Regions from separate parts of the Homo sapiens genome. Here regions 1, 2, 4, 5, 6 and 7 are each linked to region 3. Evidence: promoter capture Hi-C in 16 types of primary human blood cells and fetal thymus (Javierre and others, 2016). All regions are on one chromosome and are shown on one strand. The core of a region is centred on a gene start or on the middle of the fragment in contact, and the rest is flanking DNA. Distances in the headings are between cores, read along the strand shown. Region 1 overlaps KDM3A (lysine demethylase 3A). Region 2 has its middle 11 kb from the start of ATOH8. Region 3 holds the start of POLR1A (RNA polymerase I subunit A). Region 4 holds the start of LOC124907851 (a long non-coding RNA gene). Region 5 overlaps KDM3A (lysine demethylase 3A). Region 6 has its middle 50 kb from the start of MIR6071. Region 7 overlaps KDM3A (lysine demethylase 3A).

Region 1 (3,561 bases), core at 990-3,489, 380 kb before region 3:
TATTTATATGAAGTTCAAAAGCAGGCTAAAAACTGAAAGAATATTGTGCAGGAATACAAATATATATGTTAAAATTGTAAATATAAGCAAACGATAAACACAAACTTGAAGATGGTGGTTAGACTAAGGGCAATAGGAAGAGGATGGAGCTGGCAAGAAAAGTAAGGAAAGGAGACTAGGAGGCAAAGCCTCAGCAGGACTGGCTGCCTGCTGATCCAGCCAGTGCCACAGTGCAAAACGAGCAAGGAAATAACTGCTGCCCAGCCACTGGCCCAAAGTCCACTGGATCCCAGTCATGGGTAACTGTACATTGATAAAACCAGACTCTAAACCATGGTAAACTGAGATGAAACCAAAATTGTAAAAACATAATGGTCAAAGGGAAAGGAGTGCTAGACAACAAAACATCCTGAAACAAAACACCATGGACTTTTAAGGGGGAAAAAAAGCTGAAACAGTAGGGGCTGTTGGGTGATGGGGAGTTAAGAGTGGGGGAAGAGTAGGGAAATGGGCTCTAGCTTGGAAATCAGGAGATCTAAGTACTAGTTTCAGACCTGCCACTAGCTGCCCCTTGGAGATCCTGAACAAGTCAATGCCCCTTCTACTGTCCGCAAGTCCTGGTCCTCATTTGCAAAATGGGGGGTGTTGCAGGAACTGAAGAGAGGCTGGATTATATGATCTCTCCAAAGAGCCTTTGCACTTACTCTCATGGAAGAGTCACAGCTCAATCACACAACCTTTGAAAAGACCACTCTTTAATGATGTTTACAATAAGATATAAGGTGTTTGAAAATGAACACATCATTATTTTCATCCTTCTGAATGCTTGCTTCTGGATGGGAACCATTTTGTCATAGGAAAAGCTTTTATAGAGTAACACTGCCATCTATTAGTGTCTAGGGGGAAAGACCCGCTGCCAAGCTAGTTAAACCACGCAAGCAATTCTTTTGAAAATTTCTCAGATACCCACCTTTAAAGCTTCAGGATTTCTATAAAGCATGGATAAACTATACAATTTATTGGAAAAATGCTCTTATATACTTAAGTTTGCCCAAGATCCCAACCATGCAGCTGCTTTAATCAGTCTCTGAGGGGCTCGAGGGACAGGACCTCGAGAGAGCACACTGCAGACCCACAGCACATGGAGGACTCACCAACAGAGACCTGAGAAGTGAGGAACAGGCAAGAGGCCTTGTGCCCACCGGGTCTTCTCACCCACACACAATTTCTCTGGTACCCCTACCCTGGCAGAACTATCTTGGGCATGGAGACTGCTGGGAGCTTGCACACAAAAACACTCCCCTGTCACAACAGTCCCCAACTACACTCCTAGTGGTTCCCTGAGCTGACTCAACCGTAACAGAATTGTGGGGCTGGAGTCCTTGCCCCTCCTTCCCTTCCCTCCCCCAACAGTCTTTGGAGAACATAGCGAAGACAACAACAGACCTTGTCCTTTTTGAGAAAGACACCCACAGGTCTAAGGCTAGAAATGGAAAATGACATGGAAGTAATTATGGCAGGAAGAAATAAGTAATTTCCAGGAGGACTGGAAAAGTAGGGGCCAAATAGTAAAAATGAGTAAATAAAATTCACTGAAATATTCAAACAACTAGAACTGCATTCAACAATACATACTTCCTTCAAAATGGCCAACTCGAATCCAGCCCTAATTAAAGGCCATGTGTAAAACTGACGAAGATCTCAGTTATAATGATGATGAAAGAAAGCTCTGGTAAATGGAGAAACCAATCTTTATCCCAGGCATCCTCCTTGTTAGACAGTGAGTATTGAGTCATGTCAAAAGAATAAAAGTCCAACTCAAAGGGTACTTTGAATCCTAAGTAACTAACTTCTACTCAACAACACAGAACACTGCATTTAATTGTAGCAGATGTTAAGACAGCTAGAATGCCAGCAGATTGACCTAAATGTCCGAACACTGAAATCACTAATAAAAGTACATTCTCTCAATGATGTATCACACACCATTAAAAGTCATCTAAAGACTATTAAGTAACATGTAAAGATTTTACAATGTAAAATTAGGTACAGTAAAGGGAAAAACACAAAATTGCATATGCCCTACAACTGCAACTATGAAAAGAAACACACAAACATGTGGCCAGGGAACGAAAGGAAATATGTAAAAATGAAAGCTGTGGCTGTATTACGCATTAGGATTATGGGTGTTTTCCACCTCTCCCTCCCACAAAATCAATTTTCCAAACATTTTGAATTGTTTTATTTCCATTTTAAAGTTAGCCATCTCCTCCTTACCATAAGCATTATACATCTTGGGGCCCAGATCTGGCCGAACAAAGTAGTTTGGCAGCCTAGAGGCCAAATTCAGTTTGCCATCTCGCCTTGTGTACTCGGGCAGTGGAATGTTGGCCATCAGATCATCAAACCTAGAACAACAGAACCAGGAATTTGCAAAGTTAGATTGCTTTTCTAATTCATTATTGTGTAACCTGTTTTGTTCCTTCTACACCAAAAGGAACAAATCCATCTGTGATCATGCAGACTGACAGCCATCAAATATTTAAGATGAGAAGTACAGCAGTTACAAAGATGTCTTCTCTCTCTCCTACAACACACCAATGTGTCAAAATCAGCTGTAACCGTTCAGACAAAAGATCTCAGCAATAAATTCTAGACAAAAAGTTATTCTTAGAGATATATCATTGATTAGTTGTGACACCCTTTTCAAAGTTTCAAGCTCAGTCAGGAAAATAGATCTACCCAGTAGATGTCTTCTTGTCTAACTCAGTGCTGTGACTACATTGTCCTGACCCTGACAGGTCAGATTCCACAACTGCCTCCAAATCAGCCTTGTAAGAAAAAGTGAGCCTCTTCTCTAGCAGGGCCTACCATGGAAAATCTGTGGTGTTCCATTAGTCAGCCAGGCCTAAAAGCCAATCACTTCTTCATCTCATCTAAAAATAAACATGCCTCCAATGACTACAGACTAGAAATGAAAAATCAGTGGCAGTATAATTACAGAACTTTTGTTATTTTCTTGAAAACTGTTTTCTCACTACCTCAAAAAAGAATTTATCCTACCAAGTGAAGGACAGAATCATCTCTCCCCACCTTCATAATCATACCTGGAAGGCATCATATCTCTAAAATCTTCTCCTGGTGGCCAGTCCTTAAGTTTCAACACCATTGGTTCTTTTTCATTTTTCAAACGATCTGAAAGGTAAACAGAATGAACTATTACTATTTATAATTCAGAAACAGACCAAAATAAATGACAAATTAGCATTTTATGCCTCAACAATACAAATAAAATATGTCTCTGCAAAATTTTCATAACCTGATAAATTTAGTATACAAATATTACTTTTCCTTAATTTTCCCCTCCTACCAACTATCCACCATTTTATTTCTGCAGTGTAAAAAAATCCATTTGTACCCAGGAGGCAGCAAGGTGCAGCAAAATAAAGATCACCAACTAATGGATCTGTGTCAGGGCCTTGTCTTTCCTAGAAGCTTATTAAGCTGCTACTCATTCTTGGGAGATTCAGCCGCTCCCTTTTGCCCACTGCATGTAGGTGG
Region 2 (3,724 bases), core at 295-2,794, 360 kb after region 3:
GTTGAAAAGGATCCTGAGGCTGCATCTGGGTCCCTTTGGGAATGAGTGCTATAATTGATTAGCAATGTCTGCCATGGATGAAAGAAAAGGAGTGGCAGGATTCACACCATGTGTTTGCCACTCCTGGTCTAGTTCGATCCTGCCTTTTTTTTTTTTTTTTTTTTTTTTTGATGAGAGAGACTGAGTCCTGACGCCCGTTGTTGGTAGGGTTTTTCCCAGCCTTCTCAGGAATCTGACTACTGTTGGTCAGTGGCAGGTAGCCTGAATGTCTCTGAGGACTGAAGATGTCAGATCCAAAGACTGTCTCCAAAAAGCCAGAACAACTGCTGATTTTAGTTAATGCTATAAACTGCCTGTTTCCTGGAAATAATCGGTAAAATTAGTTGTCTCGTGGAATCGACTGGTCAGTTCAACCAATGTAGGTGATGTATCAGGCCCAGGTAAGCCCCAAGCCAGTGTCTACCTAACGTTAGTGCTCAGTTTGGCCAAAAAGAGTTCATGGGGGAGGCTAACCAACTATCTGAGCTCAAGACAATAGAACTCCCAAGTGGTCAACAAAGTTGTTCTAATCAGATGGATCACTGGCCGTCTGATTACTACCAGACAAGCTTGAGTCAAGGTGTTCTAGCCACCCTGGCCAGGACTCTACCTCCCTCACCATCATCTCCTCCTGCCCTTCCAGCCTGGCTTCTTTCCTTTCCCCTTTTGAGCCCGTGACAGATCCTGCTTCCTCTGCCAGAGAATCCTTCTGCAGTGGGCTGAACACCTCGAGAAAGTCTTCCTGACTGACCCTTCCAACACCTGCAGATAGTTCCACTGCCTTAGAGCCTCTCCTTCCATCTGTGACAGCTCAAAAACCATTCAGGCCACTCCTCATTTTAAAACTGAGGAAACTGAGGCTCAAGAATGGACATGGCTCACTTGATATCACACAGGAGGTAGACTGTTGACTTTAACCAATTGCCCCCCACTCAGTTGGCTCAGGTCTCCTGATTCCAACTCCAGGGTTGTGGTGGCTGCCTGGGGAAAATCCATTCTGTCTGGTTCACTGAGTTTCGTGCGTGACTCAGAACAACACAGATAACTTCTGAGGACTCCTGGAAGTGGGCGGACCTTCACTTTGGGGTGGCAAAGAACTTGACATGTGATGGGGGTGTGTGGGGGAGTGTGAGGGTGGCGTGGGTCATTGGTAAGGGGGGTAGGCTGCAGGAGAGGGCTGACCTGATATGAACCCTGGGGGGACTGCCAAGGGGCCCAGCCACTACCTCCTGGGAACAAGGAAACAAGGTAGTTTATCTCTCTGGCTTCGGAGCGTTTGTCACACTGCCCCCTGGAAGTCTACCCTGGCATCTTAGGTCCCCAACATTCCCCATCTTGAATTCAACAATCCTCTTTTGAGTGGGGCAGGGAAAACAAGCCCTTCCACAAGGAACTCGGCTAAGTGAAAAGTGGCCCTCAGCGGTGGTGGACAGAGCCCAGGCTTTGGACAAGGATGGTCCCGAATTGACCCTTGGCTCACCACCTACAAGCTGGGAGTTTGGCTGAGTTCCTTGATCTCACCGGGCCTCAGTTTCCTTGTTTGCAAAGCTAGGATAGAAAGATTACTGGCCCTCATAGGGTTGTTGTGAGGATTAAAGGGAGATTATCAATGTAAAGGGCTGAGCACAGGGCTTGGCAGATGGCAGCTAATAACTGCACCTTGAACGTCTCTCCTCTCCTCTCAGTGCAGTACCATACATGCTTCAGGGCTCTGATCCTACCACACCTCCTTCAGGAAGCCTTCCCTGGACACACTCAGCCCAGAGGAACACACTCCGCTCTTGGGAACTTCCAGGCTCACCTGCCAGTGTTCTATACTGAAAGCCTTGTTTCTCCAAAGAACCCACAGATCACTGGGGGCTGATGTGGTTTGCAGCCCTCCTTGCTCCTGCAGGCTCCCAGCTCAGAGCTGAACACACAGCACATGCTGAATAACATGGCTGCTCAAGCTCCTGGCACCCTCTCCCCGCCCCAGCCCACCTTATTCCCCCAGATCCCCTGATTTTCCAACCCCCTGTCTCATTTGTTCCTAATGCTTCTGTCTCCATGTCTCCAGAGCTCTGTTTGCATGAGGGAAAAAACTCTACATACACACACACACACACACACACACACACACACACACACACACACAGCCCAGAAAGCATCCAGTTGCTCCCGGGCTGGCTGCCAGCGATTGAGTGACCTGCAGCTTCCTCCCCAAATCACATTCCACTGGCACGGATCTTGCCCCGCCTGACGCCAGCCTCCGAACTCGCCCCCAGAGCAAACATTTCCAGTTGGCAGCTCGGCCTTGTTTTTCTGAGGCCCTGATTCGGGCTCCCTTGTAGAAAACAGAAAACAAAATGCATTGGACCAAAAATGAAATGAAATAAATTTTAAAAGGATGGAGGGCTGGGGGAAGGCATTTGCTCCAAGTCACATGGAAAAATAGAAGCTTCAGGGTGTACAAATAGCGTTTAAGAAGCAAACACACATGCTCACCATCCCCCCATCCTGCTGGCTTTGAGGCTGTGATCAATTCATTCAGGCTGCTGCCTCCCGCTAAAAGACTTACTCTGTTCTCATTCACAGCTGCGAGGGGAGGACCCGGGAGAAGGGTGGTGGGAGACCACAGATCTGAAAGGGGAGGGTGATCGGGGTTACAGGACTGTTGTTTGTTCCAAAGGGGAAATTAGAGGAAGAAAAATAAACATGGCCAGCCACATTTTAACCCCAGTGCGCGAGGAGTCCGGGGATGGACAGGGTATGTGTGTGCGTGTGCTGGCGTGTGCACATGCCTGTGGGCGCCGCCGTGTTTGCCTTCTCAAAATAAGAGCTGCTCAGTGGAAAGATGTCATAACCCAGGCTCAGGCGGCAGGGGGACGGGCCAGCCAGGGGGGGCAAGGCTGGCGCCCAGGCCTGCCCATGGGGTCAGGCAAAGGCCGGGTGTCAGAACAGGGGAGCTGTGAGTCAAGGGCCAGGCGTTTGATGCCGAAGGTCAGCCCCCAGCTGGGGCTCAGTCCATGGGGAAGAGGTGGTCCGAGGAGCATTGCTAAGAAAGGATGAGCTCATGGGATGTGGGGCTCATCTCAGCAAAGGAGGGTTGTGATGTGGGGAGGGAGGCCCCAGGGGAAGTCCATGGAGGTGGAAGGGACTAGGTGAGGTGGCAGGGTGAGGAGGAGGACAGAGAGGTGGTTAGCTGACCCCAGAGTGAGGGCAGTTGGCCACCAATCTGGCTGGGTCACAGAGCTGAGGAGCAGGGCTGCAAAGCACCTCCTGCCCAGGAACAAGGATGCTGGGAGGTGGCATGGGAAAGGAGACAGGGATCCCAGGACTGAGAGAGCATGCGGGACCTGGGCTGAGATGTAGGGTCCTTGGCCCAGGAGAGTCCCAGACGTGTTGTCAAGCATCAGGCCAGGAGTGAGTGGGCAGTCACATGAGAAGCCAGGCAGGTCCGTCAGCTTGGGAAGCCGTGAGACAGGACGAGAGCAGGCAGCTCAGAGCTGGCACCAGGACCTGTGTGGCTGGGTCGCTTCTCTATGGTGCCAGCTTCTCCATACAGGGAAGAGCCTGGCACCTTTAAGGGAGCTGGCAGTACCGAAGAGATCCCAGAGAGAGGGCCTGATGGAGTCTGCAGTGGCTGTCGGTGCTCAGCTTGATGGTCAGGGGCTCTGGAGCAGGAAGGTACACAGTCCAAGAAGGA
Region 3 (3,735 bases), core at 733-3,232:
GAACCCAAAACACTATGATGTTTAAAAGAACAATTCAGTGAGCTCTTGCTTCTATACAGATACTGCCCTGATCAGAAAGGACTACCTCACTTAAAGCAATTACAACATAGGGAAGATGACCCATGGCTTCTCATTCCACTTCTTTCAACAATCAAGAATGTACCAAATACATAAGGCCTGATTTAGACTTGGAATTGCTGATATTTTCTATTTTCAGAGGTTCAATATGAAATCCTTTTTAAACCAAAATATAGAATCATTGGCCCATGACTGAGTTTTTAAGTGTTCTGTTTAAGTGTTCTGATCACACTAAAAACACAGTCAACACACCACAGATAATGTGACGGTTAGTATTATCTTGTGTTTCCCCTTACTAAATGGCATCAGTAACATTCAGAAAATTGTCAAGATGTGATTGCACAGACAGATACTTCCTCCAGTAGTATCTGGTTTCAGGTATCATTTAAAACAAGAATACCCCTCTACGTTAAGGACATTTCAGAAAGAGATCAACTCTTTCAAGTTTCTGAGATCAACTCTTTCAAGTCACACTATTTGTTTCTCATGACCTTAAAACAGAGATCACAGTTATTTTGAGAACGGATGCTGAGGAAGAGATTCTGCTTCAGGCAAAGAAAATGAGTAGAAAAATGCTAACGATGGCTACCAGGAAACGGAGGACTGGCATTGAATGGCAGCACAAAGGTTTCTGCAGTATCAGATGGAGTGGTTTCTCTTTCTTGAGGGGAACTAAGGGAGAGTACATATAAAAACATATTGTAAATTACATACCCCACTTATACCTCACAAACTTTTCGGATGGTTATTACCAACTCTAGTCTGCAGATGAGGAAATCTGTCTATTATCATCCAATTAAGTGAATGGCAAACACTAAACCTAAAATTAGGCTTTTAGCAAGTTTTCACTACAAATTACTGCCTCTCATATTCCCACAATGCCACTGTTTGTACTGAGTGAAAAAAAAATTACACAGATAGGTCATACATGTTCCAAGCTATAACTATCACAGATCAAAAGGGCATAGTCAGATCTTTTAGACTTTTCTGCTTTTACGAAAACCTGATAACTTCTTTAGCCAAAGTCCCCACGGTGGCGACCAGAGACTGCCTTTTATTTGGGAAGATCTTGTACGTTCTCCTCGCTCCTCCTGATTGGGTTAAAATGAGTAATGGCGGATAATTTTTAATTTGGGGTAGTGTTGCTAATAGCCACACTCACTGGAACGCAAGCTTCATGAGAGCAGGGTCCTAGCTTTGCGGATGGTGTTAACTACAGAATATTGCAAGCAACCAATAAGTATTTCTCTAATGAATAAATGCGTTGCGAATCCTATTTCAAAGGGCCACCTCCGCGTACCTGGTCTTAAGGGCACGCGACCGTTAAGGGCGCGCATGAGCAAACCATTTCATCGTGCCTACTTCCACAGCCAGCTGGGAAACATAGGACTAAGGTGACTCCGCGGTCTTCTTCGCGGATACCCTAAGCGTCTCTTACCTGCAGCTGCGTGCCTGTTCACACAAACCCGCCCGCCGACCCGTCAGCGGCTGGCCAAGCCTGCTGCGGAGGCCCAGCCAGCGAACAGCAGATACAACCGCCATCTTTGATTTCTCTGCAGAGCATGTTGGGAAAGCGTGCCTCGACCTTCAGGAAGGTGGGGCGCAGTGGGCGGGGAGCAGGGAACAGCTCCGCTATTGGCTGAAGCGGAAGAAGACGAAAGCAATCATAAAATGGGAGGTTGCAAGCTCATGGTTTGAAAGACTTCGTCACGGAAGCTAAAAGCTCTATACACCCGATTTGCCTCGGAGGAATTTTCCTAAATGATTATTTTGATGTCTTATATATCTTTGATTGTTTTCAAAACAAAAGAGCGAGCAGAGAGTCGTACAACTATTTGTTCCCCCCCCATGTAGAAGTGATCTCATCCACGTAAATGTCGTTCCTGCGACCGCTTCCGCGCGCAAGCGCACGTTGAATCGCGTGGTGACTCCGGGCTTGAGGTTGAATTAAGAATAGTCAGGTGGTGAGTGGAACGTCTCTTGGGGTGTCGGAATTCAAAACGGACCTGGAGGATGTTGATCTCCAAGAACATGCCCTGGCGGCGGCTGCAGGGCATTTCCTTCGGGATGTATTCGGCTGAAGAGCTCAAGTAAGGAGTTGGTCGGGTAGCGTGCCCAGCCTGGATCTTGAGGTCGGCGCCCTAAACTACGATTCCCAGAAGCGCTTTTGCCCAGTCTATCCTCTTGAGTCCAGGCTTGTCTGGCGCTTGTCCTGCTGGGAGCCGTAGTTCTGGGAACGTTCCTGGGCCGGCGTGGACTGCCTGGATAAGAGGCCGGTGGTGCTGGGGGAAAGAGTTTGCGCTGAGGTAGGGGAATATAAGGGTGGGGAGGGTCCTGGTCTGCAGCGTTATCATCTGCCAGTCTCCTCGTTAACTAACAAGCATTTGTGGAATTAACCATAGTGTACCTGACATGGTTAATTAGGCACGTAGTAAGTTTCCTCTTGTTTGTAAAATGATTGTCCTTCAAGTGTCAGTTCAGGCGTTAACTTCTCTTTGCTAGGACCCTGCTATATTCTCGGTCTGGTTGTTAAATCAAGGGAACTCTCTTTAGTCTTCATTTTGATCAAGGTAGCATTTGACATTCTCCAATGCACTCTCTTGAAACTTTCCTTTCTTCCAGAACCTTATTTGTCTTCAAGTTCTCCTATTTTTATGACAAATACTTCTACCTCCCTCTCTTCCTCTATCGATCTATAACCTCACAAACATTTATTGAGCATCCAGTTTTTTCCAGGCACCAAGCTAGGCGTTAATGACACATTGGTGAGCAAGGTCTGTACCTCATTTTACTCCTTAAATGTTGATGTTCTTCAAGATTCTATTCTAGTAATGTTTTCTTCATGGTAAATATTGTCCCTAGACAATCTCACCACTTTCATGATTTATAGTCTCAAATTTAAATCCCCAACGCAAATTTATTTCCCTGATTTTCAGACCCATTTGTTCAGCTGTCTGTACATCTTTAATTGAATTTCACACAGAGATCTTAAATGCATATCAAAAACTCAACATGGCCTAAATGCATATCAGAAACTCAACATGGCCGGGCACGGTGGCTCACGCCTGTAATCCCAGCACTTTGGGAGGCCGAGGCCGGCGGATCACGAGGTCGGGAGATCGAGACCATCCCTGGCCAACATGGTGAAACCCCGTCTCTACTAAAAATACAAAAATTAGCTGGGCGTGGTGGCGGGCACCTGTAGTCCCAGTTACTCGGGAGGCTGAGGCAGGAGAATCGCTTGAACCCAGGAGGCGGAGGTTGCAGTGAGCCGAGATTGTGCCACTGCACTCCAGCCTGGCGACAGAGCAATACTCTGTCTCAAAAAAAAAAAAAAAAAAACTCAACACGGCATCCCTCTTCAAAGGGAGGGGTTACTTACCCCTCCAAAATGGTGTACGTAGTGCAAAATAGTCACTAGAAACTGGAAAATTATTCTAGATCTCTCCTGACATATAACTTATTTATTGGGCTCTTACTTTGTGTCACCTACATGTCTATTTGTTCTTAGTCTCCTTTTTCTCCCAATTGCTACTGTGTTGCCTCTGGCCCTTATCTCATATTTGAATTGTCTTTTCCTTCCACCCTCCCCTTACACCTCTCAAGTGCATGCTCCACACTGCTGTCAAAATTATTCTTGCAAAGTGCAAATGTAGT
Region 4 (3,491 bases), core at 564-3,063, 390 kb after region 3:
GGGCAGCCCTGTGACACCACCCGTGGAGGCCGTCTGATTCCTGACCAGCAGTTTTAAAAGATGTATTTATATATAGTGTGCATGCATATGTGTGTGTTACACTTTTAATTGACAAATAAGAAATGATATTTATTTATAGTTTACAACATGATACTTTGATATACGTACACACTGTGGAATGAGTAAATCAAACATATTTATCATCCCACATACTTAACCATTTTTTGTGGTGAGAACATTTAAAATCTACTGTCTTCGACTAGCTTATTGAAGTGGGGCGAAAAAACTAAGAAAATAAATAAATAATAATGTTTAGAATCTACTCTCAGCAATCTTCAAGTATATGATATGTTATTATTAACTGCAGTCTCCATGCTCTACAAGAAAACTCCAGAACTTATCCTCTGACCAGCAGTTTCTGGTTGACACAAAGACCTATTTCCAGAAGTTTCTTGAAGATACCATCAGGAAAGTAAATAGCAAATAGAATGGTTTGCTCTGTCATTATAGAAAGTAAAGATTGAAGGTCTCTCGGATGACCCAGCCATCAGCTGCAGTTCCCTGGCCTTATTCATTGCGAAGTCCGAAGCGGAGCCCCCATGTGTCAACACGTCACCACCACCATGTCTACGTAGGGCTGGAAACCGTTCCCCGCAGTCCTCTTCCTCATGCTCCCAGGTTAGAGTTTGCCAACAAGAGGATCTTGCACAGGACTTGGAAGGCAGAAGGGAAGCAGAAGTGATTGTTCTCAGGGGTTAGTAAGAACGGACGTGGCGCTTCATCAGATGCAGGTGCATGGCCGACTTCTAAGAACTCCCATGCCTGTCACTTCTTCCCCCACACCCAGGATTCAGGTTGAGGCTGTCAAGATGCAGAATGGCTTCTGTGTCCTGACCTCCCCTGACCCATGCGGCTGCATAAGGAGCTCCCTGCTCTCTCTGGCTCTGAGCTCCAGCTTCCACTCAGCCCCCAGCCTCACATGGGCCTCTCCTTACTCAATCCCCACCCCCAGTTCAGCATGGACCCATGCTGGAAACCTGACCCCCTTTTTAGGGCTCCTCAAGGCCTCTGTGTGTGCAGTGGACTTCACAGGAGGCTTAGAAGTTACCAGGAGAGTTTTGTCACACACCAACACAAATGATATTATTACACATTAGACACATGATTCTTAAAAGTTGCTCAGTCCTGTTTCTCCACCATTCCTCAGTATCAGGTCTGCTTCCTGAGCTCTGCTAAGACAAAAGCCATCTACTCTAGGCTGTAAGCATCAGCGGAGTGAAAAACTGCCAGGCGCCTTGAAGCTTGCATCTTTCTTTTCTCCATTCCCCACCAGTCTCCATAAACAGAAAGGATTAGTGGAGAGTAATTTTCCTACCCCTCCAGCCTTACTCTTCCTTAGAAGGAATATGTTGCTACACCTTCTATTCTTTTCATTCATATTCTCCCACTATACTCGAGTTTGTGGATGTCATTGACTCTGAAAGATTATATTTTAGGGTGGTATGTGTATTCATTATCAATTGCTGTGTAACAAACTGCCCCAAAACTTAGCTGCCTAAAACAATAAACTTTTATTTTTTTTCTCTGTTTCTGCAGGTCAAGAATTATAATTAAGAGTGACTTAGTTGAATGGTTCTGGCTCAGGGATTCCCATGAGATTGCAGTCAAGACGTCAGCCAGGACTACAGTCCTCCAAAGGCTTGCCTGGGTTGAAAGGGTCTGCTTCCAAGATGGTGCCCACTTGAGGCTGCTGGAGAGAGGCCTCAGCCCATCACCACGTGGGCCTCTCCACAAGGCCACTTGAGCATCCTCACGAGTGTCAGCTGACTTTCCCCAGAGTGAATGACACAAGAGAGAAAACAAGGCAGAAGCTACAATGCCATTTATGATCTGATCTCTGAAGTCACATACCATCACTTCCCCTGTATTCTGTCTTCAGAAGTGAGTCACTGGCCAGACACAATGGCTCACACCTGTAATCCAAGCAACTTGGGAGGCCGAGGCAGGAGAATTGCTTGAGGTCGGGAGTTCAAGACCAGCCTGGGCAGCATAGCAAGATTTCATCTCCACAAAAAATTTTAAAATTAACCAGACAGCGTGGTGCATACCTGTAGTCCCAGCTGCTCAGGAGGCTGAGGCAGGAGGATCACTTAAACCTAGGAGGTCGAGGCTGCAGCGAGCTATGATTGCACCACTGCACTCCAGCCCGGGTGACAGACCAAGACACTGACTCTAAAATAAATAAATAAATAAACAATCAAACATTTAAAAAGAAATGAGTCACTAAGTCCAGACCAAACTCAAGGGGAGGGGAATTAAGCTTCACCTTTTGAAGGGAGGAGTATCAAAGAATTTTCGGGCATAGTTTAAAACCACCACAATGCGAACAGTACAGGAAGTTCTTACTTAACGCTGTCCATAGGTTCTTGGAAATTGCAACTTGAAGCAAAAGAACGTATAGTGAAACGAATTTTTTTTCTTATTAACGTTATAACAAAATGATAGTGAATGAAATGACACTATTTGAGGACCCACTGTATGCCATTTCACTTGAAGTTGCAGTTTCCAGGAGCCTATTGACAATGTTAAGTAAGGACTTACCATACAGGACAAGGAATCAAAATACCTAGTTTTGTTTTGTTTTGTTTTGTTTTGGTTTGGTTTTGGTTTTTTGAGACAGGGTCTCACTCTGTCACTCAGGCTGGGGTGCAGTGGTGTGATCATGGCTCACTGCAGTCTCGACCTCCCCGGCTCAAGTGATCCTCCCACCTCAGCCTCTTGAGTAGCTAGGACTACAGGCACATGCCACCACGCCCAGCTAATTTTTGTATTTTTTTTGTAGAGACAGGGTTTCACCACGTTGGCCAGGCTGGTCTTGAACTCCAGGGCTCAAGGGATCCGCCTGCCTCGGCCTCCCAAAGTGCTAGGCTTACAGGGGTGAGCCACCGCACTCAGCCTACCTATGTTTAATTTTCCTTCTAAACACTGGGGGACTTGGGCATATCCCTTCACCTCTCTAGATCTATTTCCCCATCTGCAAAATGACAGGATTGACTTGGATGACTGCTAAGGGTTCATTTTCAGTTAGCATGTGTCTCAATGTTCCAGCACTCAAGACCCTAGGCCTGGACCCCAGAGCTCAGGCAGCTTTTCCTCCACGCCCCCACCTTCCCAGCAGATCTCGTTGGCTCTCAGCCCCAGGTATAGCCACCACACATCAGCTCCTCCAGGTGCTTCTTCCAGGCCTTGTAGCCTCCTCTGTCCCAGTGGTGCCCTGCCCTGGCAGCACACTGGGATCACTTGTGGAGCTTCGAAAACTCCCTGTGTCCAAGCCACACTGCAGTTCATCAGCTTGTCCAGGGTCGGGACCAAGTACCAGCAGGTGCAACAGCTCCCGTGACTCCAAGGCCCAGCCAAGGTTGAGAACCACCACTCTAGCTTGAGTGGCCCTTCACATGTGGAATCGTTTCAACAAATAAAATAACACTGCC
Region 5 (3,812 bases), core at 1-2,500, 340 kb before region 3:
AGATGTTTTACTGTGCAAGGAGTAGGCATCCATAATACCCACACTATTTAAGGTTCAACTGTACTTTACTTCTCATGTTAAAGGAGTTCGTATTTCTGTTTCTAATGTTTACTACTGTTTCTATGTTTTACCTGTATAGGCTTCAAAAGGTCTTTAGAAAGAAATACTCTTTGTTGATCTCCCAGAAAGCGAACAGAAGTTATGGATCCCAAACCAGCTTTGTCCAACAGAGGTTTGTACGTCTAAAACAAAAGAAAACACTTTAGCATCATAACTGCTGTCAGCATAATTCTGAAAATAGGAACTGGCAATTTTCCACACACAGAGAAAGTGATAAAGCCACTAATTTTTTTTATTTACTGCAAGTTATCTCATAACAACTATTTATGCAGCCATAGATAATACAATTTTTATTCAAACCCAATAATTTAAACCAGATAGACATTTGGGAGTTATTAATATTCAAGACTGGGTTCACAGATTCATGGTGTCCCAAAAATTTATGCAAAAACTGTTTGTATGCACACTTCTCTGGGGAGACAGGCCTGTGTTTTTAACCAGTTCTAAACAGCTGGAAAAAAAAATACAAAGAGCAAAATAAAACTTTAACCACAACCCTCATCTCTCAAGAATCTCCATAGCAGCTCTTTTCACTCATGGGCAAAATCAGATCACAATCTGATCAGCCTTCAACCATTCTCCCGGCCTTTCCAAACTATCCAGATCCAACCTTCCCTCCTTGAAGCACCAGCTCAAGTCCCATAAAGACTAAAGTGCCCTCTCCAGACAGCGCTCACTCTTCTCTTTGCACCACACTTTACAATGTGGATATAGCACAATCATATACTGACTTATAGTATCTTTAAAGCCAAAAAATATAATAATCCAGAGGGAACCTTAAAGATCATAAGATCAAGACTGGAAACCCTACAGAGAGCAAGGCAACAGCTACTATTTGGCTCTAGCCCATTGCTGCCATAAGGCTCCAGTGTTGCCATTATCTTGTAGATTTTTTAAGAGACAATGGAAATCTAGATTTTCAGATGTATTCTCCACATTTTTTAAAGTAGGCAATTAATTCAAATGTTTTGAAAGTACTGCAAGGGCCAAACCAAACAGATCTATATGTTTGCATATGACTGCTAGTTCCTGCCTTCTGACCTAGACATTCCCACTACTACCTCCATCCCTATTTGTCAAGTGAACACGAGGTCCAACAAAGTCAAGGGACTCGCTCAGAAGTGCAGAGTTCTTAAAAGGGCTGGCAGGAGATCCTGGGAGCTTTTCTGACTTTCTGGCATTACATTTACATATTCCTTTTGTACCCACAATGGATAAAATGCCCTCTTCTCAGGAGTTCAATAAGCCCAAGTTTTACTCACTATTGCAGGCCACTGTACAATTCGTTCAGAAATTTCAGGTGACTTTCGTTCAGCTAAAACCAAATTATGTTCTACTAAAAATGCTCTCCTTAGAAGGCTGTAGACTTCTATCCATCTTCTTTTCCTCCAAGATTCCCCATCAAATTCCACACACACCTAGACAGACAAAATTGGGGGGTGGGGGAAGCAGATTCAATTTATTAAAATAAGCATTACAAATGCCCCAGCTGAACTATACCTTCATTATTCTATTTGAATCCTTTATCTGGATGTGCTTTCCCCCTTCCAGCTCCCTCACTTCCTGTCACAGCCCACAATACATAATCACACATGAACCAGGCTTTGGCTCCCAACTCACTTCGGGATGCAGAAGTCAAGGCTTTTTGGGCCAGTCTGTGTCCCTAAAGTAAACCCCTGGGAAGCCCAGAAACCAAACAACCCCTACTTATCAGGCGTTTACATACATTAATTAGACATCTGAGCTTTTGGAATTGCAAGACAAAAATTTGAAACTCAAAAGATGTACTTAATAAAACTGCACTGTAATTGTCTATTGACAATATAAGTGGGCTTAAGATGACCCCCCATCACCACAATCCACCACCTCCTTTTGAATTCCTCTGGAATGAGTAAATTTAGCACAAGGCCTAATATACAGCACATCTTCAATATCCCTTTCAGTTGAATAAGCTAGGAAATTTACCACAGAATTTGGAGTCTTAAACTACTTGTTGGATAACATAGAAACGAGTGATTAACAAAATGACCACAAAGTTTTTCAGAACTATCTCTAGCTTCTTATATGAAAGTTAAACTACCTTGAAATATTGTTTTCCAAGTAATTGTAATGTTTTCTGCTTCTGACCTGCATAATACTTTTAACCCTAAGGCTACAACTCTTAAAACCTGTATACATATTTAAAGACATTAAGAAAATTCAGTCTAAAAGTGGGCTTCTGGGAGTGATCTATGAGTAGGAATTGTTTACAAAACCATAAAACTCAAAGTCATATAAAAGCATTGAAACACTCCAGCTTCCTTAACCTATTATAAATATGCTACCCCTTAACTTACTCTAGGTCCTCTTCAATGCTTTTTGTATTCTACCAATGACAATAAACTCCCTCGATATTCAGTGTAAAAATCACTGTTTTTATTTGATTTAAAATTCCTCCTCTTACTAAAGAGGTCTCTCATTTTGGTTTCCAGGAATTAGTTAATACATCTATCATCTATCAAATCTGTTCATCATTTTACAGACATCACTCATACATCCCTTTTCAACCTTCAGTTTATTAACTAGTTAACTTCATCTATCAGAGCACAATTCATATATCCTTTCCTCAAACAAACCTTCCCTTACCAAAGTGCCTCTCTCTCCCAAGAGAGGTCCCCATACTAACTGTACTCAAAGTTTTGTACTTTTCCGTCTTAGCTCTTATCCACACTTTGCATTATTTATTTGTTAACTGATTGACAATTAAATTCTAATAGGTCAAAGTCTGTCTCTGCTTTTGCTTACAACTGTATATCACTAGTATATGGAATCTAATTGGTACTCAAATACTTGTTAGCATAGATTAATGAATAAATTTCCCTCTGCATTGGGTTCCTATCTTGTTTCTCTCACCTGCTTAGAAGGCACTAAATTCCCACATTAGCCCCAATCCCAAACCTTCTCCAGTCTACAGGATAAAAATAAATGAAATCTAAGATCTATCCTACCCTTCTCAGCCAACAAAACATGCATCCCTAACCTCCCAGGCGACTTTACCTAGGAAACTACATATCTTCTTGGTATTTTAGGCTTTTAACTTTGCAGTTATTACTGAATACTTTCCAAATCAGAATAAATGTGAACACCCACGTGGCAAGGCCCACATACGTTTCTCCCTGGTTATATGTTTTCTATCACTGTAATCAACCAAATGGTCTTTCATAAAGGTGGGCAGAGACTGCCCATCTTCCTTTCTGTTTCCTAGCCACAGAATCCATATGCTCTGACATCTCCCCTAAATTGGCTAGTCTTTCTGCTCCATATTCACATCAACCTCAAACCCAACCAAGCTTTAGGTAGACAGTTTTCTTATTTATCAGCAATGTGGTATAAGAGGAATGAGCACACACAAATTCTAGATCCAGATTCAGAGACCTTGAATTCCCAGCTACACTGAATCTCTCTTAGAATGATTTTACATGTATAAAATAAAATACTTATGATTACAAAGGAAACCAACTAACTTGCACCCCAGGTTAAGAACCCTCACTTAGAAAATCTAAGTTCTCTCAATGTTTTTCAAAATGAAAAAAGTGACACCTCTCATTGCATAGTTAGGCATATTTTAAAAGACAGTGTATGTAAAGTGTCTGGCAAGACAACTAGGTAGTTTTAATACCTCCATGGTTAATTCAAATCTTATCAAGGTATCA
Region 6 (3,744 bases), core at 279-2,778, 270 kb after region 3:
ACAGTTGTTTGGTGGAGTCTTTAGGTTTTTCTAAGTATAATATCATGTCATCTGCAAACAAGACTAATTTAAACTTCTTTCTTTGATGCCCTTTATTTCTTTCTCTTGCCTTATTGCCCTGAAACTTCGAGTAGTAGGTCAAATAAAAGTGGTGAAAGTGGGCATCTTTGTCTGGTTCCGGATTTTAAAGAAAAGGGTTTCAGTTTTTCCCTATCAGTATTATATTAGCTAGGAGTTTTTCATAGCTAATGACCTTTATTATTTTGAAGTATGTTTCTTCTATACCTAGTTTGTTGAAGGTTTTTTTCTTATAAAGGCATGTTTAATTTATTGAATGCTTTTTCAGCATCTATTGAAATAATCATATCGTTCTTGTTCTTGGTTCTCTTAATGCGATATATTGTGTTTATTGATTTGTATGTTGAACCATCCTTGCATCCCTAGGATGAATCCTATTTGATCATGATGAATTATCTTTTTAATGTGTTGTTGAATTCCATTTGCTAGTATTTTTTTGAGGATTTTTGCATCTATGTTCATCAGTGATATTGGCCTATAGTTCTCTTTTTTGGTTGTGTCTTTGTCTGGTTTGGTATCAGGGTAATGCAAGCCTTATAGAATGAGTTTGGAAATATTCCCTTCTCTTCAATTTTTATGAAGCATTTGAATGGAATTGGTCATCATTCTTCTTTAAATGTTTGGTAGAATTCAGCAATAATGCAATCAGGTCCTAGACTTTTCTTTGATGGGAGACATTTTATTATGGCTTCAATCTCATGACTCATTAGTGGTTTGTTGAAATTTTCTATTTCTTCATGGTTTCAATCTTGGTAGGTTGTATGTGTCCAGGAATTTGCCCATTTGTTCTAGGTTTTCCAACTTGTTGGCATGTAGTTGTTCATAACAGCTTCTAATGATTTTTTGTATGTCTGTGGCATCAGTTGTTATGTCTCCTGTTTCATTTACAATTTTATTTATTTGAGTCTTCTCTCTTAGTTAATCTAGCTAAAGGTTTGTCAATTTAGTTTTTGCCAAAAAAAAAAAACCTTTTCATTTCATTGATTTTCTTTATTTTTTAGTCTCCATTTATTGCTGCTCTGAATTTTATATCTTTTCTTCTAATTTTGAGTTTAGTTTGTTCTTTTCTAGTTTTTTGAGGTACATCATTAGGTTGTTTATTTGAAGTCTTTCTACTTTTTTGTTACAGGCATTTATTGCTATAAAATTCCCTCTTAGTACTATTTTTGTTGTATTCTACACATTTTGATATGTCATTTTCCATTTTCATTTGTTTCCAGAAATTTTTAAAATTTTCTTAATTTCCTTATTGGCCCTAGGTCATTCAGGAGTGTGTTAATTTCCATGTGTTTGTGTATTTCCCAAGGCCCCCCTTGTTATTTCTAGTTTTATTCCATTGTGATCAGAAAATATACTTGATATGATTTCTACTTTTTTGCATTTGTTGAGACTTGTTTTGTGGCCTAATATACAGTCTGTTTTGGAGAATGTTCCATGTGCTGATGAAGAAAATGTGTATTCTGCAGCAGTTGGGTAAAATGTTCTGTAAGTGTCAGGCCTAATTTGATCTGGTGTGTAGTTTAACTCCAGTGTTTCTTGATTTTCTGTCTGGATGACCTGTCCATCACATATAGTAGCATGTTGAAGTCCCCTACTATTATTGTATTGCAGTCTATCTCTCCCTTTAGATTTGTTAATGTTCGCATTATATACTTGAGAGCTCTGTTGTTCAGTACATAGATATTGATACATATTTCCTCCTGCTGAATTATTCCCTTTATCATTAGTGATCTTCTTTGTCTCTTTTTACAGTCTTTGATCTGTAGTCTGTTTTATCTGATGTAAGTACTTACTTATATCAGCTACTTACTCCTGCTCTTTTTTGGTTTCCAATTACATAGAATATCTTTTTCCATCCCTTCACGTTAGAAGTGAAATGATCTTCTTGTAGGCAGCATATAGTCAGGTCTTATTTCTTTATCCATTTAGCCATTCTATGTCTTTTAATTGGAGAACTGAGTCCATTTACATTCAGTGTTTTTGTTGATAGGTAAGGACTTACTACTGCCATTTTGTTGCTTGTTTTCTGGTTGTTTTGTAACTCCTCTCTTCCTTTCTTACTGTCTTCCTTTGTGGTAAGTGATTTTCTCTGATAGTATGTTTTAACGCATTGCTTTTTATTTTTAGTGAATCTATTATAGATTTTTGCATTGTGGTTACCATCAGGCTTACCAAAAAAATCTTACAGATACAACAAGTTATTTTAAAGAGATGGCAGCATAGATCACACAGAAAATAGAAACAAAGAAAAATGTAAAAACAAAAAACTGAAAAAACCTCTACACTTTAACTTCATCCTCCCCACATTTTGGCTTTATATTATCTCAATTTATATATCTTTATATTCCCTATCTCCCTTTTTTTTTTTAATTTTTTTTTTTGAGACAGAGTCTTGCTCTGTCACCCAGGCCAGAGTGCAGTGGTGCAATCTTGGCTCACTGCAAGCTCCAACTCCTGGGTTCTCACCATTCTTCTGGCTCAGCCTCCTAAGTAGCTGGGACTACAGGTGCCTGCCACCACGCCCAGCTAATTTTTGGGATTTTTAGTAGAGATGGGGTTTCACCATGTTAGCCAGGATGGTCTCGATCTCCTGATCTCGTAATCTGCCCACCTCGGCCTCCCAAAGTGCTGCGATTACAGGCGTGAGCCACCACACCTGGCCGATATTCCCTATCTCTTAATAGGTTGCTATAACTATTATTGTTTTTGATAGATTTGTATTTGGGGCTTTATACTAGATAGATAGATTTGTATACCATAGTTATGATGTGGATTATATACCACAATTACAGTATTAAAGTAATACTGGGTTTATCCATGTATTTAATTTTACCAGTGGGTTTTAAACCTTCAAATATTTTCTTTTTGCACATTAGTGAGTTTTTTCTTCTTTTCCTTTTTTTAGTTTCTTTTCTTTTACTTTTCTAGTATCTTGAAAACTATCATAGCTCACTGCAGGCTCGAATGCTTGGGCTCAAGCAATCCTCCTCCCTCAGCCTCCCAAGTAGCTGGGACTACAGGCACTGCTGTGCCCAGCAAATTATTTTGTGTAGAGACAGAGTCTCACCATGCTGTGCAGGCTGGCCTCAAACTCCTGGGCTCAAGCAATCCTCCCACCACAGCCTCCTGTGTAGCTAGGACTACAGGTGTGCACCACCACACCCAGCTAATTTTTAGTTTTTTGTAGAAATGGGGGTATCACTATGTTGCTCAGGCAGGTCTTGAACTCCTGGACTCAAGCAATCCTCCTGCTTCAGCCTCCCAAAGTGTTGGGGTTACAGGTGTCAGCCACCATGCCCAGCCTGTTAAAGATTTCTAAAACCATGGATCACTTCGTTTTGGCTACATTCTAACCCTATCACTTTGGGACCTGGGAGGCAGAGGTTGCAGTGAGGGGAGATCCCTCCACTGCACTCTAGCCTGGGTGACACAGTGAGACTCTGTCTCAAAAAAAAACAAGAACAGTAGTCAAATGAAAAAGTAGTTTCGCATTGACTGTTACTCATAATATATCAAGATGTCCCATCAGACTGGCTCATTTGAAGTGGGAAGAAATTGACCATCAGCCCTAAAGCAATGAGTAATTCAAGTGTACATCTGTAACTAAGTTATAAACTCTGCAGTGAAAGAATTTTATTATTCCATCTCAAGAACCTATAACAAGGC
Region 7 (3,661 bases), core at 895-3,394, 360 kb before region 3:
AGAGGGAAGTGGGTTTTTAGGCAAACAAACGAAAGTCAAAAACCAACAGCTTCTGGGGAACTAGTTGAGAGATGGGTGGGAGAGGTGAGTCTTGGAGAAAATTGGAAGATCCCAAACCAAAGAAGGTTTTAAATAAAGTAAACATCTTCAATAATTACCTTAGAGGTGATCTAATCTTACCTCTCTTTTAAAGCAGGACTAGACCACATGTAAATTTCTACATGATGCTGTTAGTCCTTGATCCCTTAAACACTCCTACTCAGTTATAGTGAAAGAGAAGGTAAAGTAAGAAAGGAGAGAAAATAAAGAGATTAGTAGTTCAAGGATGTAATTTTAATTACTCAGATATTGAAAGACATCCTTTGAGTTGAGCCAGGCTTCCACAGATCACAGGCAAGAAGGTTATCTTATCTGTTCTATCCTGGCTCACAAGAGGAAATATCTAGAAACAAGAAAGCTGAACTGTCTAAATCTAGCTCTTTACTGAGGAGAGCAACAGGTGCTACCATCAGTGATTCTCTGAATTCAAAGCCAAGTCAAGAGAAAAATGCAACGCCCACTTCCGAGGAGCCACGTATCTATCTGAACGGAAAAAAAGGCAGCTGTTTGACTCCAGTTTGCTTTTGTTTTCTAGACCCCAAGTGGAAGAAAGGAGCAGAAAAGTTTTCCAAGCCTTCTGTACTAACATGCAGTACTAGTGGACACAGCTCAGAAGTCCCGGTAGGCTTCTGATCACACTCTCACACCTCAACCAAAAAAAAAAAGTCACAGTAGATAGCAGGATGTGCTACTCCAGGATGTAAGTTTTTCACTTCTTTTAAAATCCATTAGATGGGGAATAGCTACATAACATATTAAATGAGACAAAGCTGGACTCCGTAACTCACTTGTGTATCTATCATGTGCTTATTGCACTAGAATCTTTACTGTTTCGTCACATAATATTAAATTTGCTTCAAAAACTAGCTGTGTGTGAGAGCTGATGATTCAAAAACAACAAATAGAACAAGGATATGGTTATGAATATGTACTTTCTTTTGAGTGTTACCTAATTTCTGAGAACAGGATAATCTTATGCAATTAATTTTATGCAAATTAACAGCTATATTAACTTAAGCCTCAATGAAGAAGCTAGGTTAGAAGTATTGCTAGGCAAAGAAAGTTCTTTCTATTCTTCCAATGCTATACTAAAAAGATTCGCAAGTCAAATCCAGCCATCTTGCCCTCTAATTTCACAGAGGCCTGCAGTTAAAAAGATAGTGTAGATATATTCATTTTTACTGATCCAAATAAATAAATTGTTTTCGTAGGTTGTTTTCGTTTGTTTGTTTTTTGAGCCAAGCTCTCACTCTGTTGCCCAGGCTAGAGTACAGTGGTACAATCATAACTCACCGCAGCCTCCAACTCCTGGGGTCAAGCAACCCCCCTGCCTCAGCTTCTCCAGTAGCTAGGAATAACAGGTGTGCCCCACCATGCCTGGCTGATTTTTAAAAAAATTTTTTGTGGAGATGGGGTCTCACTATGTTGCCCAGGCTGGTCTCAAACTCCTGGTCTGAAGCAATCCTCCCACAGTGGTCTCCCAAAGTATTAGGATTACAGGTGTTAGCTACTATGCCCAGCCTAAAACATTAACAAAATCCATATCAATTTCCCACATAGCTAACAGTGATCAAAAGGCATCTTTAAATTCTAATAGCTCTAAACCTTTTGACATGCTGAAAACATTTTGTTCTTCTAACTCTAGTAACAGAGCTTCTGATAACTACCACCATTATAATGCATCCTCAAACTTCATATAAGTAGCATCAAGTACAACGTACCAATTTCCCCATAAGAAGAGTAGTTTTAAATTGTGGGTGCAGCAGGACCTCCCCTTAAGCAAAGAGACTCTTCCTGGTAGTTCAGCCCTATCCGTAACATCTTTAACCCAAGTCCTTTTTCCAGAAATGATACAATTCTGCATCTTTTCTAAAATTTCAAATCTTAGCTACCTGTCACAGATCACCTCTTCCTACTCCAACCTGGATGTAACAGAAAGATCAGTGACAAGCTGAAATAAAGTAAACACCAGATTACTTTAGATTTTGTTTCAAAATTTTCTTAACCTAAGAATTGGGAACCACCTAATTACCCACCTAATAGGAACCAGTTAAATCCTATGGTAAATGAACATAATGGAATCCTTGCTTTAAAATACTAATAGACACCTACACTAATTCACAGGGTAAAATTATTGGCATGAACCCATTTGTGTAATACAGTTTATCTGTATTTCTATATACATGAAACCAGGTACACCAAAATATTAACAGTAATCGTTTCTGAGATTTGGGAATTATACCTTCTTTCAACTTTTCTGACTGTATAAACTATTTCTACAAAGTCATTTTCACATAGTTTCTCATAGGACAAGAAAGAGATATATATATCTACCATTTCTTACCTTCTACCAATAAAGATATTGAGAAACACTCACCATTCTGGATTTTATTGTTGCTTCTTGAACAACAGCTTTCATTATCTACTTTTACTGAAGATTCCTTTAAATTCTGTGATCGGCAAGCTAAAGCTGAAGGTTCTACCTTTTTTCCTGAACAGTTATTAGGGCTATCACTATTGACACCTGCTTTCACTTCTGGTGCATTTGAAACATCCGATGGGGAAGGTGCATGTTCTAGGTGCTTCTGCAGTTCAGGAGGATTGGCAATTTCCAATTCTGCCTTAGAAGAAGCCTTTGTAGGTAAGCACTCCTTAGGAAGGCCAGTCAATGCTTGTGGAACAGACTCCAATCTGTTTTCCTGATCAGTGTTTGTCTTAGGCTGAGTACAGCTGCCTTTTGGCTCAGTCAGAATTTTCAAGTCTCCAGTTCCAATCTGAGAGGACTTTGAGAGCAACCCTGCTTTGCAGACATCTGGTTTTGTTCTCAGAGCTTCAGACTTTGTATTTAGACAGGAAGAAATTTCCTCTGGTAAACTTTGTTTATGACATCTGAAAAATATAATATAGAAAGCTAGCATCCAGGCCTCTTTTTATCTCTCCATTATCTTCCCCAAACAAACTGTTTGGTTCCCTAAGGTAACGAGTATGAAAGAAAAAAGAAAATTTCTCATATGTTACAGAATTTAGGATAGATTTCTGTGAGCTAGAGTTAAAAGTCATCAGTCAATGGTTCTGCAAAAATCATAAACACTCAGAAAAATACAACCCTAAATTATGTCTGCACGTTCTCAGAAATCTTTAACTTCTTACGTTAGTTCTACTTCTCACAGCACAATGAACCTTAGCTTTCCCTCAAAACAAAATATTGTATGAAACCAAAGAATATACTCAGCAGATAAGCTGGTTTATAAGTATCAAAACCAGAAGTCTGTGTAGGGGCAATTCCGAAAGTTTTCTTTCTTCTTTTTTTTTTTTTTTTTTTGTGTGTAAATTTCAGAGAAACCTCTGCTAAAACTCTTTCTTCTATAGTAAAGATTATGTTTGAATTTTAAAGATAAAACTCCATTCTTGCTACTTGCCAAGAGTCAAAAATTGAACCTCTAGTAAAGGTCAATGTGTCAAGATAAAAATTCTAAAATATATACGTATATAAAAAATGTTAGAAATCCCTTCAAAGATATTCACACAAAATCTAATTAAAAACGAACAATGGGCAAGGCAC

The links. Contacts are between HindIII fragments. The CHiCAGO score rates a contact against its expected background, and 5 or more counts as called.
Region 1: a fragment that was not itself captured here is called in contact with the fragment with the promoter of POLR1A in region 3 in 1 of 17 cell types (megakaryocytes); the score reaches 6.5 in megakaryocytes.
Region 2: a fragment that was not itself captured here is called in contact with the fragment with the promoter of POLR1A in region 3 in 12 of 17 cell types (fetal thymus, endothelial precursors, megakaryocytes and 9 more); the score reaches 11.4 in fetal thymus.
Region 4: a fragment that was not itself captured here is called in contact with the fragment with the promoter of POLR1A in region 3 in 8 of 17 cell types (erythroblasts, megakaryocytes, neutrophils and 5 more); the score reaches 12.3 in erythroblasts.
Region 5: a fragment that was not itself captured here is called in contact with the fragment with the promoter of POLR1A in region 3 in 4 of 17 cell types (fetal thymus, naive CD4 T cells, naive CD8 T cells and 1 more); the score reaches 7.8 in fetal thymus.
Region 6: a fragment that was not itself captured here is called in contact with the fragment with the promoter of POLR1A in region 3 in 14 of 17 cell types (fetal thymus, M2 macrophages, naive B cells and 11 more); the score reaches 14.9 in fetal thymus.
Region 7: a contact is called between a fragment that was not itself captured here and the fragment with the promoter of POLR1A in region 3, in 1 of 17 cell types (megakaryocytes). The highest score is 6.0, in megakaryocytes.

Annotation. Positions count from the first base shown.
Region 1 is chr2:86,484,576-86,488,136 of GRCh38, reverse strand. KDM3A (lysine demethylase 3A) reads right to left here. Exons shown (of 26, transcript NM_018433.6): 20 at 3,108-3,195; 21 at 2,278-2,408. Among named protein-coding and RNA genes, the nearest start is that of KDM3A, 45 kb to the right of the region's middle. The HindIII fragment of the contact is 2,517 bases long and covers 981-3,497 here.
Region 2 is chr2:85,741,170-85,744,893 of GRCh38, reverse strand. No RefSeq gene overlaps it. Among named protein-coding and RNA genes, the nearest start is that of ATOH8, 11 kb to the left of the region's middle. The HindIII fragment of the contact is 1,868 bases long and covers 611-2,478 here.
Region 3 is chr2:86,104,133-86,107,867 of GRCh38, reverse strand. POLR1A (RNA polymerase I subunit A) reads left to right here and starts at 1,982. Exons shown (of 34, transcript NM_015425.6): 1 at 1,982-2,168. The coding sequence starts at 2,092. It overlaps PTCD3 (pentatricopeptide repeat domain 3), which reads right to left and starts at 1,633. Exons shown (of 24, transcript NM_017952.6): 1 at 1,517-1,633. The coding sequence starts at 1,620. RefSeq lists enhancers at 1,323-1,582, 1,963-2,172, 2,373-2,462. The HindIII fragment of the contact is 4,349 bases long and covers 1,254-3,735 here.
Region 4 is chr2:85,713,919-85,717,409 of GRCh38, reverse strand. LOC124907851 (a long non-coding RNA gene) reads right to left here and starts at 2,149. Exons shown (of 2, transcript XR_007087118.1): 1 at 2,109-2,149; 2 at 103-713. The HindIII fragment of the contact is 1,019 bases long and covers 1,304-2,322 here.
Region 5 is chr2:86,447,533-86,451,344 of GRCh38, reverse strand. KDM3A (lysine demethylase 3A) reads right to left here. Exons shown (of 26, transcript NM_018433.6): 3 at 1,383-1,538; 4 at 132-242. Among named protein-coding and RNA genes, the nearest start is that of KDM3A, 8.1 kb to the right of the region's middle. The HindIII fragment of the contact is 4,402 bases long and covers 1-3,451 here.
Region 6 is chr2:85,831,735-85,835,478 of GRCh38, reverse strand. No RefSeq gene overlaps it. Among named protein-coding and RNA genes, the nearest start is that of MIR6071, 50 kb to the right of the region's middle. The HindIII fragment of the contact is 8,623 bases long and covers 1-3,744 here.
Region 7 is chr2:86,465,699-86,469,359 of GRCh38, reverse strand. KDM3A (lysine demethylase 3A) reads right to left here. Exons shown (of 26, transcript NM_018433.6): 10 at 2,477-2,988. Among named protein-coding and RNA genes, the nearest start is that of KDM3A, 26 kb to the right of the region's middle. The HindIII fragment of the contact is 6,796 bases long and covers 1-3,661 here.